2 separate regions of the Homo sapiens genome follow, and region 2 is linked to region 1. Evidence: promoter capture Hi-C in human tissues and cell types (Jung and others, 2019). All regions are on one chromosome and are shown on one strand. Each heading gives the region's core, a stretch centred on a gene start or on the middle of the fragment in contact. The rest is flanking DNA. Distances are from core to core; before and after follow the strand shown.

Region 1 (6,377 bases), core at 1,460-3,959:
GCCAAGGCTAGGCTGTCCCTCCCTGGGCAAGGTGCAAGTCCACAGGTGATTAGGGTGTGGCTCTGAGTGAGAAGTCCTAAGAAGAAGGACAAGTTCCCATCTGGGGGAGGAGAGGAGGAGACAGCAACAGAAACACTTGATTTTAGGTTTTCTGAGCCTTAGCTTCCTCATCTTTTTTTTTTTTTTTTTTTTTGACAGGGTCACGCTCTGTCCCCCAGGCTAGAGTGCAGTAGCACAATCATAGCTCACTGCAGCCTCGAACTCCTAAGCTCAAGCCATCCTCCTGCCTCAGCCTCCCAAGTAGCTGGGACTATAGTCGTGTACCACCAAACCTGGATAATTTTTAAATTTTTTGTAGAGGTGGGGTCTCACTATGCTGCCCAGGCTGGTCTTGAACTCCTGGCCTCCAGTGATCCTCTGGTCTTAGCCTCCCAAAGTGTTGGGACTACAGATGTGAGCCATTGCACTCCACCCCTCATCTTTGAAATGAAGCTGAAAAGCCCATCTCATAGGGTAGTTGGGAGGTGTAATAGAAAAAAAAAAGCATTGGGCATGTATAGTACCTGACACACAGCAGGCCCTCAAGAAAGGCAGTTTTTTGTTTTTGTTTAGTTTTGAGACAGAGTCTCGCTCTGTCACCCAGGCTGGAGTGCAGTGGCACGATCTTGGCTCACTGCAACCTCCAGCTCCTGGGTTCAAGCGATTCTCCTACCTCTGCCTCCCAAGTAGCTGGGATTACAGGCTTGCACCACCATGCCCCGCTAATTTTTTTGTATTTTTAGTAGAGATGGGGTTTAACCATGTTGGCCAGGCTGGTCTCCAACTACTGACCTCAGGTAATCTCCCACCTCAGCCTCCCAAAGTGCTGGGATTACAGGCGTGAGCCACCACGCCCAGCTGACAGTTTTCTTTCTCCCTGTCTCCCTTCCGGTCTGGGCAAGGAGGAAAGAGAGGAAAGAATCATCCATTCCTTAGCAAGAAGTGACTGTGGGCAGAGGCCAGGTCATGTCTCAGAACTGCCGACGTCAGAAGACACCACTCCCATAGAGACCATCCTGCCTAGCCCTTCCCCCTGGGGCACAGAGCAGAGAACCCACTTGCTCGAGGCCATACTGCCTGGGCCGCTGCAGGCCTGGGTTCATCAGAGGTCTCCAAGTCCTGTTACACTGTGGCTTCCCCTCTGCAGGAAAGTTTATTTTACTGGGTTTGTTTTGGAGGGTGGTGGGTAAGATGGAAACAGAAACCAAGCAACGGGTCCCCAGCCCAGCTGCGAGGCCGTGCCTGACCAGCCGACTGGCCAAGGTGAAGGATACACATCTCTCATGGCTTCCAGGGTGGACGCCCGCAGAATGTCTCGGATGCCGATGACATTCTCATGGCGGAAGCGCAGCAGGATCTGGATCTCCCGGAGCGTGCGCTGGCAGTAGGTCTGATGTTCGAAGGGGCTGATCTTCTTGATGGCCACGCGAGTCTTGCGCACGTGGTCATAGGCCGAGCTGAGGGGACCGGAGAGAGGCTGCTGCTGTGGCCTTACAAAGGGGGAGTCCGGGCCTGGTGGCCCCACCCAGGCCTTGGCAGGGAGGGGAGAGAGCAGGAGCTGGCTCTGGTCAAATCATAAACAATGCTGGTTCCTTCCTGCTGTGGAGGCCTGGGATCTCCAGAGAGAAAGCTGGGGACCAGCCAGGCGGCCCTTCGGTGACTTTACAAACAGAGGAAGAGACTGACCGCTCACTGACTTCCCCTCTCCTCAATCCCCTTCCATTCTACTGGCCCTGAACCCTTCGCCCCCATTCCCAGGAAAGGCTCCTTAACCCAAGACAGGTCCGGGGGTGCAGATGCTGGGGACACACCATGGGGCAAATACTGGGAAGGTGGCAGCCAGGGGAGGGGCAGGAGAGAATGGACAGGGCAGGGGAGGGTCCCAGGGTGAGGGATCCGGGCAGCGGGGCTGTCCCAGAGGGATAGAGGCCCAGAGCACACGGTGGGGCCGGGGGCACTCACAGACCCCTCCCAAAACATGCAGGTGGCACTCCTGGCCGCCTCATCTCTCTCTGGGCCCCTGGGGTGGTGGGGCCAAAGCCCTGCCCCACCCTGATCTCGGCTCTTCTCCCCCAGGCTCCCTGGCACTGCCTCACAGGGGGAATCCAAGACACCCTTTCCCCCAAAACGGGCCCTCCACTGCCTCTTCACTAAGGATGTCGCCTCCCCGAGAGTACTCATCCTCTGGGCCTCGCCCCGTGTCACTAGGGTCCCCGCGGGCCCCCACATGCACTCGGATGCCCCTCCCATCATTACAGAAGGGTGGACTCAAAGCCTCCAAGCCTGCTCCCCTGAGGACGTAGGCAGCGCCCCCTCCCCCAGAAAGCACTCAGGGGCCCCCTCCCTGGGACGCTCCCGATCATCCCGAGTCTCCTGCCTCCTCGGGACGCTCCGCGTCTCCACGTCCCGGAAAGCGCTCGGCGCCTCCTCCTCCTCTCCCGCGAAGCCCCCTCCCCTGAGGGCACCCCCTCCCCCGGAACGCCCCCTCACCTGACCATGCCGTACGCGCCCTCGCCGATGTACTGCAACTGCGTGTAGCGCGGGCCCACGTCGAACGGCTGCCCCTTCACCATCTCCACCTCCCCCGGGACCCCCGGGCCGACCCCCTCGGTTCTACGGGGCTCCCCGCCCCCGCCCCCCTGAGCCGCCGCCGCCGCCATCTCCACTCCTCCCCTCCCACCGCCCTCCTCCCCACGGCGGCCCCGCCCGAGGCCCCGCCCCTTCCCGCCTGCCTGTCACCCGCAGGGCCGCGCGCGCCAGGCCCCGCCCTTGCCCCGGCCCCGCGTGGGCCTGGAGCTGTCACGTGACCCGCCCCGCGCGCGCCCGCCCTTCTTGCCCCAGGTTCGGGGGCCATGGGTCCCTGCGGGCTCCGCGGCCTCCAGGTCACCGGGAGGTTCGGCAGCGCCGCCTCGGAGACTGTCCTCACCCTCCCCTCGATGGCGAAGCGGCCAGGGCGTGACCTACCAGAGCCACCCAGCCAATGTATGCGGCAGCCCACCAGAACCTGGGCCCGGGATCACCCTAGGTTAAAAATAATGTTCTAATAAATGGATCAAATTTTACAGATGGAGAATCTGAGAGTTAGGTTTACTAACTTGGGTAAGGTCACTAGTAGTGACAGCTGAGACTCAAAATGGTGTCTTCTGACACAGAGACTCTTTCTAATTCCATGCCTCTCAGAGTCCTAGACTGTTTTTATTTTATTATAGAGACAGGGTCTCTCTCTGTCGTCCAGGCTGGAGTGTAGTGGTGCAATAATTGCTCACTGCAGCCTCAACCTCCCTGGGGTCAAGTGATCCTCCCACCTCAGCCTCCCAAAGAGCTGGGACTACGAGTGCGCGCCACCACGCCCTGCTAATTAAAAAAAAAAATTGGGGGGCTGGGCACGGTGGCTCACGCCTGTAATCCCAGCACTTTGGGAGGCCGAGGTGGGCAGATCACCTGAGTTTGAGACCAGCCTGACCAACATGGTGAAACCCCGTCTCTACTAAAAATACAAAAATTAGCTGGGCATGGTGGCACGTGCCTGTAATCCAAGCTACTTGGGAGACTGAGGCAGGAGAATCGCTTGAACCCGAGAGGAGGAGGTTGCAGTGAGCTGAGATTGCACCACTTCACTCCAGCCTGGGCGACAGAGCAACACTCCGTCTCAAAAACAAAAAACAAAAAGAAGAAGAGAAAAAGTAGGGTTGCAGAAGGTAGGGACTGAAGAAAGGCATGAAGGAGAAGGATCGGGGTGAGCTGAGGCATAAAGGCAGAAGCATAACTTGTCCAGCATGGCTGCAGTAAAAAAATGATGAGGTTTCAGCCTGGAGAGGTAGGTTGGGGCCAGATTAGGAAGGCTCTGGATTCTGGCAAGGAGTTTGGATGTTACTCAGTAAGCAGTAAAAACCCTAGAGGGACTTTTGCCAGATCATTTTGCAACTGCGGGAGAATATAGTGACTCAGAGAAAACACTATGGAGTTCAGCATGGAGCCAGGTTTGCTGAGTGGGAGTGAGTTTCCCAGCATAGGAAAGGCTGGTGTATCAGAGCTGCAAGCTGCCACCTCCTGCTGCTGGAAGCTCAGTTAGAGTGTGACTGAGATTCCCCTCTAGTGACTGAGGTTGGCATTTCCTTGGAGGACTGGACTGGGATTTGTTCTGGTTCATAGACGCATATTCAACTAATGTAGACTTACCATCTCTTCTGTGCCAGGCACTTTTGGTTTTTTTTTGTTTGTTTGTTTGTTTGTTTTTTTGAGACGGAGTCTTGCTCTATCACCCAGGCAGGAGTGCAAGCTCACTGCAACCCCTACCTCCTGGGTTCAAGTCATTCTCCCACCTCAGCCTCCCAAGTAGCTAGGATTACAGGCGCCAGCCACCACGCCCGGCTAATTTTTGTATTTTTAGTAGAGACGAGGTTTCACCATGTTGGCCAGGCTGGTCTCAAACTCTTGACCTCAGGTGATCCACCCACATTGGCCTCCCAGAGTGCTGAGATTACGGCACCTGGCTTGCCAGGCACTTTTATGTACACTACCTCCTGTAATCCTCACAGCAGCCATATGAAGTAGATACTATTAACATTTAACTGGAAAATGATGCTGGCTGGTCGTGGTGGCTCACCTCTGTGATTCCAGCACTTTGGGAGGCTGAGGCAGGCTGATTGCTTGACCCCAGCAGCTGGAGACCAGCCTGGGCAACATAGTGAGATCCCATCTCTACCAAAAATACAAAAATGAGCTGGGTGTGGTGGCATGCGTCCGTAATCCCAGCTACTTGGGAGGCTGAGGCAGGAGGATCAGTTGAGCCCAGGATGTTGAGGTTGCAGTGAGCTCTGATGGTGCCACTGCACTCCAGCCTGGGTGACAGAGTGAGAGACCCTGCCCCCACCCCCACCCCCCCAAAAAAAGGGACAGAGGGAAAACGATGTGGAAGCTTACGCTCTGTCACCCAGGCTGGAGTGCAGTGGCGCGATCTCAGCTCACTGCAAGCTCCGCCTCCCAGGTTCACGCCATTCTCCTGCCTCAGCCTCCTGAGTAGCTGGGACTGCAGACACCCGCCACCATGCCTGGCTAATTTTTTGTATTTTTAGTAGAGACGGGGTTTCACCGTGTTAGCCAGGATGGTCTCCATCTCCTGACCTCATGATCCACCTGCCTCGGCCTCCCAAAGTGCTAGGAGTACAGGCGTGAGCCACTGTGCCCGGCAGAATTATTTTTCTAGCACAGGGTCTTGCTCTGTTGCCCAGGCTGGAGTGGAGTGTAGTGGCAAGATCATAGGTCACTGCAGGCTCGAACTCTTAGGCTCAACAGATCCTGCCACCATGCCTAGCACACACAACCACGCCTAGCTAATTTTTTTTTTTTGTTTTTGAAACGGAGTCTTGCTCTGTTGCCCAGGCTGGAGTGCAATGGTGCAATCTCAGTTCACTGCAACCTCTGCCTCCCGGGTCTCCTGCCTCAGCCTCCTGAGTAGGTGGAACTACATGCGTGTGCCACCATGCCTGGCTAATTTTTTGTATTTTTATTAGAGAGGGGGTTTCACCGTGTTAGCCAGGATGGTCTCTATCTCCCGACCTCGTGATCCGCCCGTGTCGGCCTCCCAAAGTGCTGAGATTACAGGTGTGAGCCACTGCGCCCAGCATTTTTTTTTTTTTTTTTGAGATGGAGTCTCCCTCTGTGCCCAGGCTGGAATGCAATGGCACAATCTCGGCTCACCTTGACCTCTACTTCCCAGGTCAAGCGATTCTCCTGCCTCAGCCTTACAAGTAGCTGGGATTACCGGCACACGTCACCACGCCTGGCTAATTTTTATATATTTAGTAAAGATGGGGTTTCACCATGTTGGCCACGCAGGTTTCAAACTCCTGACCTCAAGTGATCTGCCCACTTTGGCCTCCCAAAGTGCTGGGATTACAGGTGTGAGCCACCGTGCCTGGCTTGGCTAATTTTTAGAATGTTTGTAGAGAAGGGTTCTAGCTAATGTTGCCCAGTCTGGTCTCAAATTTCTAGGCTCAAGTGATCCTCTCACCTCGGCCTTTCGGAGTGCTAGGATTACAGTCATGAGCCACTTCGGCTGGCTCCAGATTAAATCTTAAACCAGTTATTAGCTTTTTGTGATTTTCAAGGTCTGGCACTTCTTTTTTTCTTTCTTTCTTTCTTTTTTTTTTTTTTTGAGGCAGTGTCATGCTGTGTCGCCCAGGCTGGACTGCAGTGGTGCGGTCATGGCTCACTGCAACCTCTGCCTCTCAGGCTCAAATGATCCTCTCACCTCAACCTTCTGAGTAGCTGGGACCACAAGCATGTGTCACCATGCCCAGCTAATTTTAGTATTTTTGGTAGAGATGGGGTTTCAC
Region 2 (6,565 bases), core at 2,127-4,626, 160 kb before region 1:
GGGTTTCACCATGTTGGGCAGGCTTCTCTCAAACTCCTGACCTCAGGTGGTCTGGCTGCCTCGGCCTCCCAAAGTGCTGGGATTACAGGTGTGAGCCACTGCACCCAGCCACACTTTGCATATTTTGAAGTGCATCTATTTACTTAGCATTCGTGACTTGAATAATTTCACCAAATGAATAATTTTGGGTAGTTTGAAATTCGTTCTTCCAATTGTTACACCTTGTTTGGTGTTTGTAATAAACACGTAAAGGTAAAAAAAAACAGTTTTTCTGTATTCTGCCAATCATACTTTTATATAATAAATCATCCATTTTTTTCCCATAAAAAAAAAGAAAGTTATTGCTTAATGTTACAGAATTTCTGTTTGGAGTGATGAAAAAGTTTTGGAAATAGTAGTGACAGTTGCACAAAATTGTGAATGTAATTAATACCACTGAACTGTGCACTTAAAAATAGCTAAAATGGCCAGGTGCAGTGGCTCATGTCTGTAATCCCAGCACTTCCGGAGGCCAAGGCAGGTGGATCACCTGAGGTCAGGAGTTCAAGACCAGCCTGGCCAATACGGTGAAACCTCGTCTCTACTAAAAATACAAAAAATTAGCCAGGTGTAGTGGCAGACACCTGTAATCCCAGTTACTTGGGAGGCTGAGGCAGGAGAATCACTTGAACTCAGGAAGTGGAGGTTGCAGTGAGCCAAGATTGCACCATTGCATTCCAGCCTGGGCAACAGAGCGAGATCTGTCTCAAAAAAAAAAAAAAAAAGCTAAAATGGCAAGTTTTATATTATATATGTTGTTTACCACACACACACACACAAATACTAAGAAAAAAATCAGGCAGATCCTCTTCTAACAACACTTACAGTCTATTAAGTGAATCTGGGCATTTTAAAGAAAAAAATAACTATTTTTGGTTACGGAATCAGGATAGTAGTTGCCTATGGACACGGGCAGTGGGGACTGACTAGAAAGGGAAGGGAAGGAAGTTCTTGGACCTAGAAGTGTTTTATGTCTTGATTGGGGTGTTTAGATAGGCATTACATTTGTCAAAACTCATGAAATTTTATACTTTAAGATCTGTGCATTTCACTCTATGTAAATTTTACCTTAGTAAAAAACAAAACAGGCTGGGCGTGGTGGCTCACGCCTGTAATCCCAGCACTTTGGGAAGCCAAGGTGGGTGGATCACTTGTAGTCAGAGGTACGAGACCAGCCTAGCAACATGGTGAAACCCCATTTCTACTAAAAATACAAAAGAAATTAGCTGGGTGTGGTGGCAAGCGCCTGTTATCCCAGCTACTTAGGAGGTTGAGGCAGGAGAATCGCTTGAACCTGGGAGCTGGAGGTTGCAGTGAACTGAGATGGACCCACTGCACTCCAGCCTAGGTGACCGAGCGAGACTCCATCTCAAAACAAAACAAAACAAAAAATGTTAGCAACTTCTAATCCCTTGACAGTTTATATATACCGCAGTGATTTTCTCCCACTTCTCACTCACGTGGGATCTTATCATACAGAGGTTTTAAATTTTAAACAATTAAATTTATCAACCTTCTTCATTTATGGTTTCTATATTTGTGTGTCTTGCTTCAGAAAGTATCTCTTATTCCAGGTAATCATATTATCCTATTTTTAAATTCTATTTTGGAATAAATATTTCTTATTCCAGGCAATCATATTATTCTATTTTTTTTCTATATTTTTATTGTTCTTTCCTGTGTGGGACATGTAGCTGGTGGGCTAGCTGCAGACCACGGGCAAGTTTGCTAACATTGCTAAGTCTTGGTTTTCTCATCCATAAAATAGGGATAATAATTTGCTTTGTTATTGACATGATTTAATAAAGTAATATTTATTTGTTTATGTATTTATTTTAGAGACAGGGTCTTACTCTGTTACCTAGGCTGAAGTGCAGTGGCAATCTCGGTTCATTGCAGCTCAAGTGATCCTTCTGCCTTAGCCTCCAGAGTGGCTGGGACTACAGGTACTGGGACTACAGGATGGGACTACAGAGTGGCTGGGCATCCAGCTAACTTAAAAATTTTTTTGGGCTGGGTGCAGTGGTTCATGCCTGCAATCCCAGCACTTTGGGAGGCCGAAGAGGGATTAAGAGGTCAGGAATTTGAGACCAACCTGGCCAAGATGGTGAAACCCCGTCTCTACTGAAAATACAAAAATTAGCCGGGCGTGGTGGCAGGCACCTGCAGTCCCATCAGGAGGCTGAGGTGGGAGAATCGCTTGAACCCGGGAGGTGGAGGTGGCAGTGAGCCGAGATTGCGCCATTGCACTCCAGCCTGGGCTACAAGAGTGAAACTCCACCTTAAAAAAAAAAAAAAAAAGCCGGGCGCGGTGGCTCACACCTGTAATCCCAGCACTTTGGGAGGCCGAGGCGGGCAGATCACGAGGTCATGAGATCGAGACCACCCTGGCTAACATGGTGAAACCCTGTCTCTACTAAAAAATACAAAAAATTAGCTGGGTGTGGTGGCAGGCACCTGTAGTCCCAGCTACTTGGGAGACTGAGGCAGGAGAATGGTGTGAACCCAGGAGGCGGAGCTTGCAGTGAGCAGAGATCATGCCACCGCACTCCAGCATGGGCAACAGAGCGAGACTCCGTCTCAAAAAAAAATTTTTTTTTGGCCAGTCACGATGTGTCACACCTGTAATCCTAGCACTTAGGGAGGCCAAGGCGGGTGGATCACTTGAGGTCAGGAGTTTGAGACCAGCCTGGCCAACATGGTGAAACCCCGTCTCTACTAAAAATACAAAAATTAGCCAGGGACAGTGGCATGCCTCTGTAATCCCAGCTACTCAGGAGACTGAGGCAGGAGAATCACTTGAACCCAGGAGTTGGAGGTTGCAGCGAGCCGAGATCACACCACTTCACTCCAGTCTGGGCGACAGAGCAAGACTCCATCTCAAAAAAAAAAAGTCTAGATGGGGCCGGGCAGGGTGGCTCACACCTGTAATCCCAGCACTTTGGGAGTCTGAGGCGGGTAGACGGCTTGAGCTCAGGAGTTCGAGACCAGACTGCACAACATGGTGAGACCCCGTCTCTACTAAAAATACAAAAAGAGAGAAAAAAAAATAGCTTGGCATGGTGGTGCACACTTGTGGTCCCAGCTACTTGGGCGGATGAAGTGGGAGGATTGCTTGAGCATGGTGAGGAGGGAGGTTGCACTGAGCCAAGATTGCGCCACTGCCCACCAGCCTGGGTGACAGACCAAGACCCTGTCTCAAAAAAAAAAAGAAACAAAAAAAAGGTGGGGCTCACTGGCTCACACCTGTAATCCCAGCACTTTGGGAAGCTTAAGGTGGATGGATCACTTGAGGTCAGGAGTTCGAGACCAGCCTGGATGACATGGCAAAACCCTGTCTCTACTAAAAATACAAAAAAATTAGCTGGGCCTGGTGACGCACGCCTGTAGTCCCAGCTACTAGGGAGGCTGAGGCAGGACAATTGTTTGAACTCAGGAGGCAGAGGTTGCCGTGAGCTGAGATCGCACCACTGCACTCCAGCCTGGGTAACCAGAGTGAAACTCTGCCTCCAAAAAAAAAAAAGAAGAAGAAGAAAAAAGGTTTAGGCAAACATGCACTTTTCCTGTTGCTTTTTTTTTTTTTTTTGAGATGGAGTTTCGCTCTTGTTGTCCAGGCTGGAGTGCAATGGCGTGATCTCGGCTCACTGCAACCTCCGCCTCCTGGGTTCAAGCGATTCTCCTGCCTCAGCCTCCCAAGTAGCTGAGATTACAGGCATATGCCACCACGCCCGAATAATTTTGTATTTTTAGTAGAGATGGGGTTTCTCCATGTTGGTCAGACTAGTCTTGAACTCCCAACCTCAGGTGATCCTCCCGCCTCGGCCTCCCAAAGTGCTGGGGTTACAGGCATGAGCCACTGCGCCCAGCCTGAACATGCCAGATTGTAGTTCCAGGAGGCCAGAGATCATGAATACTTTGTCCACCACTATATTCCCAGCCCACAGAATACACAGCCTGGCAGCCAACAGATGCTTATTGAATGAACGAGCCTCAACAGGGCTTTCTCATTCCCACATGCCATGCTGTGGTCAGGCTTAAATCATAACCCAACTTCTGCCACCTAATATATGTATGACCTTGGTTAAATTAAACCAGCAGTCCCCAACCTTTTTGGCACTGGGGACCAGTTTCATGGAAGACAATTTTTCCACCAGGGGAGGAATGGTTTCGGGATGATTCAAGCACATTACATTTATTTTGCACTTTATTTCTATTATTATTACATTATAAGGTATAATAAAATAATTATACAACTCATCATAAAGTAGAATCAGTGGGATCCCTGAGTTTGTTTTCCTGCAACTAGATAGTCCCATCTGATGTTGATGGGAGACAGTGAGAGATCATCAGGCATTAGATTCTCATAAGGAGCAACCTAGATCCCTCGCATGCGCAGTTCACAATAGGATTCATGCTCCTATGATAATCTAATGCCGCTACTGATCTGACAGGAAGCAGAGCTGAGGCGGTAATGCAGGCAATGGGGAGTAGCTGTAAATACAGATGAAGCTTCTCTCACCAGCCATTCACTTCCTGCTGTGCGGCTCAGTTCCTAACACGTCACGGACTGGTACTGGCCCCACGGCCCAGGGGTTGGGGACCCCTGACTTAAACTAAGGGCCAGCTTTCCAGAATAACATCCACTTTGAGGGCTTGTTGAGTGGATTAAGTCAAAATGTTGGTATACTTGGCTGGTGCGGTGGTTCACACCTGTAATCCCAGCACTTCGTGAGTCTGAGGCGGGTGGATCACCTGAGGTCAGGAATTTGAGACCAGCCTGGCCAACATGATGAAACCCCATCTCTACTAAAAATACAAAAAATTAGGCCGGGCGCGGTGGCTCACGCCTATAATCCTAGTACTTTGGGAGGCCAAGGCGGGTGGATCATTTGAGGTCAGGAGTTTGAGATCAGCCTGGCCAATATGGTGAAACCCTGTCTCTACTAATAAGTACAAAAATTAGTCAGGTGATAGTGGCGTGTGCCTGTAATCTCAGTTACTCGGGAGGCTGAGGCAGGAGAATCCCTTGAGCCTGAGAGGCAGAGGTTGAGGTGAGCTGAGATTGGGCTGTTGTTGAGTTGTAGGAGTTCTTTATATATTATAGATATTAACCCCTTATAAGATATATGATTTGATATTTCCTCTCATTCTGTTGGTTGCCTTTTCACTGTCCTTTCCTTTTTTTGTTTTTGTTTTTTGTGGGGCAGAGTTTTGATCTTTTGCCCAGGCTGGAGTGAAGTGGTGCAATCTCAGCTCACTGCAACCTCCACTCCCCAGGTTCAAGCGATTCTCCAGCCTTAGCCTCCGGAGTAGCTGGGATTATAGGCGCCCGGCACCATGCCTGGCTAATTTTGTACTTTTAGTAGAGATGGGGTTTCACCATGTTGGCCAGGCTGGTCTCAAACTCCTGACCTCAGGTGATCCACCCGCCTCGGCCTCCCAAAGTGCTAGGATTACAGGCTTGAGCCACCGTGCCCAGCCTGTTGTGTCCTTCGATGCACAGAAAAGACTCTTTTCTCTACTGAACGCCCACAGCACCCTTGTCAAAAATCATTTGACTAGTCAGGGCACAGTGGCTCACGCCTGTAATCCCAGCACTTTGGGAGGCCGAGGCGAGAGGACTGCTTGAGGTCAGGAGTTCGAGACATGCCTGGGCAACATGGCAAATGGCAAAACCCCGTCTCTACACACAATGCAAAAGTTAGCTGGGCATGGTGGGTGGCGTGTGACTACCGGCTGTCTCAACTACCCAGGAGGCTAAGGCGGGAGGATCTCTTGAGCCCAAGACGTCCAGACTGCAGCGAGCTTTGATTGTGCCACTGAACTCCAGCCTGGGCGATGACAGAGCAAGGCTCTGTCAAAAAAAAAAAAAAAAAAAAAAAAAAATCGGCCGGGTGTGGTGGTTCACGCTTGTAATCCCAGCACTTTGGGGGGCCGATGCGGGCAGACCACGAAGTCAAGAGATCAAGACCATCCCGGCCAACATGGTGAAACCTCGTCTCTACTAAAAATACAAAAATTAGCTGGGCGTGGTGGCGTGCGCCTGTAGTCCCAGCTACTCGGAAGGCTGAGGCAGAAGAATAGCTTGAATCCGGGAGGCGGAGGTTGCAGTGAGTCGAGATCGCGCCACTACACTCCAGCCTGGCGACAGACTGAGACCCCGTCTCAAAAAAAAAAAAAATCATTTGTATATGCGAAGGTTTTGTGCCACAAACTTTTGTGGCTGTTGATACAAACGACATGGCCTCTGCCTTAAGGAAGCCACAGTCGAATTAAATAGATTCCGTTTCAAGTAGCATCTGTCCTGTGTGCTTAGTGGGCACTGGGCCCATGTTTTCCCACATTTTACCCTTTAAGCTTCTGATCCAACCGGTGAGATAGATAGGATGATCCTCTTTAGTAGAGGGGTAAGCTTAGTCCCCTGAGAGCGCGGCTATGGCTTATGCGAGGGTACGGACAGTCAGGATTTGAACCCAAAGTTCCTGGCTCCATGTGTCATGCTACCTCCAGTCAGATGTTCTCACCT

The links. Contacts are between HindIII fragments. The study calls those that stand out against the background at their distance.
Region 2: a fragment that was not itself captured here is called in contact with the fragment with the promoter of MAPK3 in region 1 in 1 of the 25 tissues and cell types used here (aorta).

The regions. Positions count from the first base shown.
Region 1 is chr16:30,120,511-30,126,887 of GRCh38, forward strand. MAPK3 (mitogen-activated protein kinase 3) reads right to left here and starts at 2,710. Exons shown (of 9, transcript NM_002746.3): 1 at 2,530-2,710; 2 at 1,314-1,496. The coding sequence starts at 2,699. RefSeq lists a silencer at 2,702-3,071. The HindIII fragment of the contact is 30,345 bases long and covers 1-6,377 here.
Region 2 is chr16:29,954,939-29,961,503 of GRCh38, forward strand. No RefSeq gene overlaps it. Among named protein-coding and RNA genes, the nearest start is that of TMEM219, 3.9 kb to the right of the region's middle. RefSeq lists an enhancer at 6,514-6,565. The HindIII fragment of the contact is 4,191 bases long and covers 1,282-5,472 here.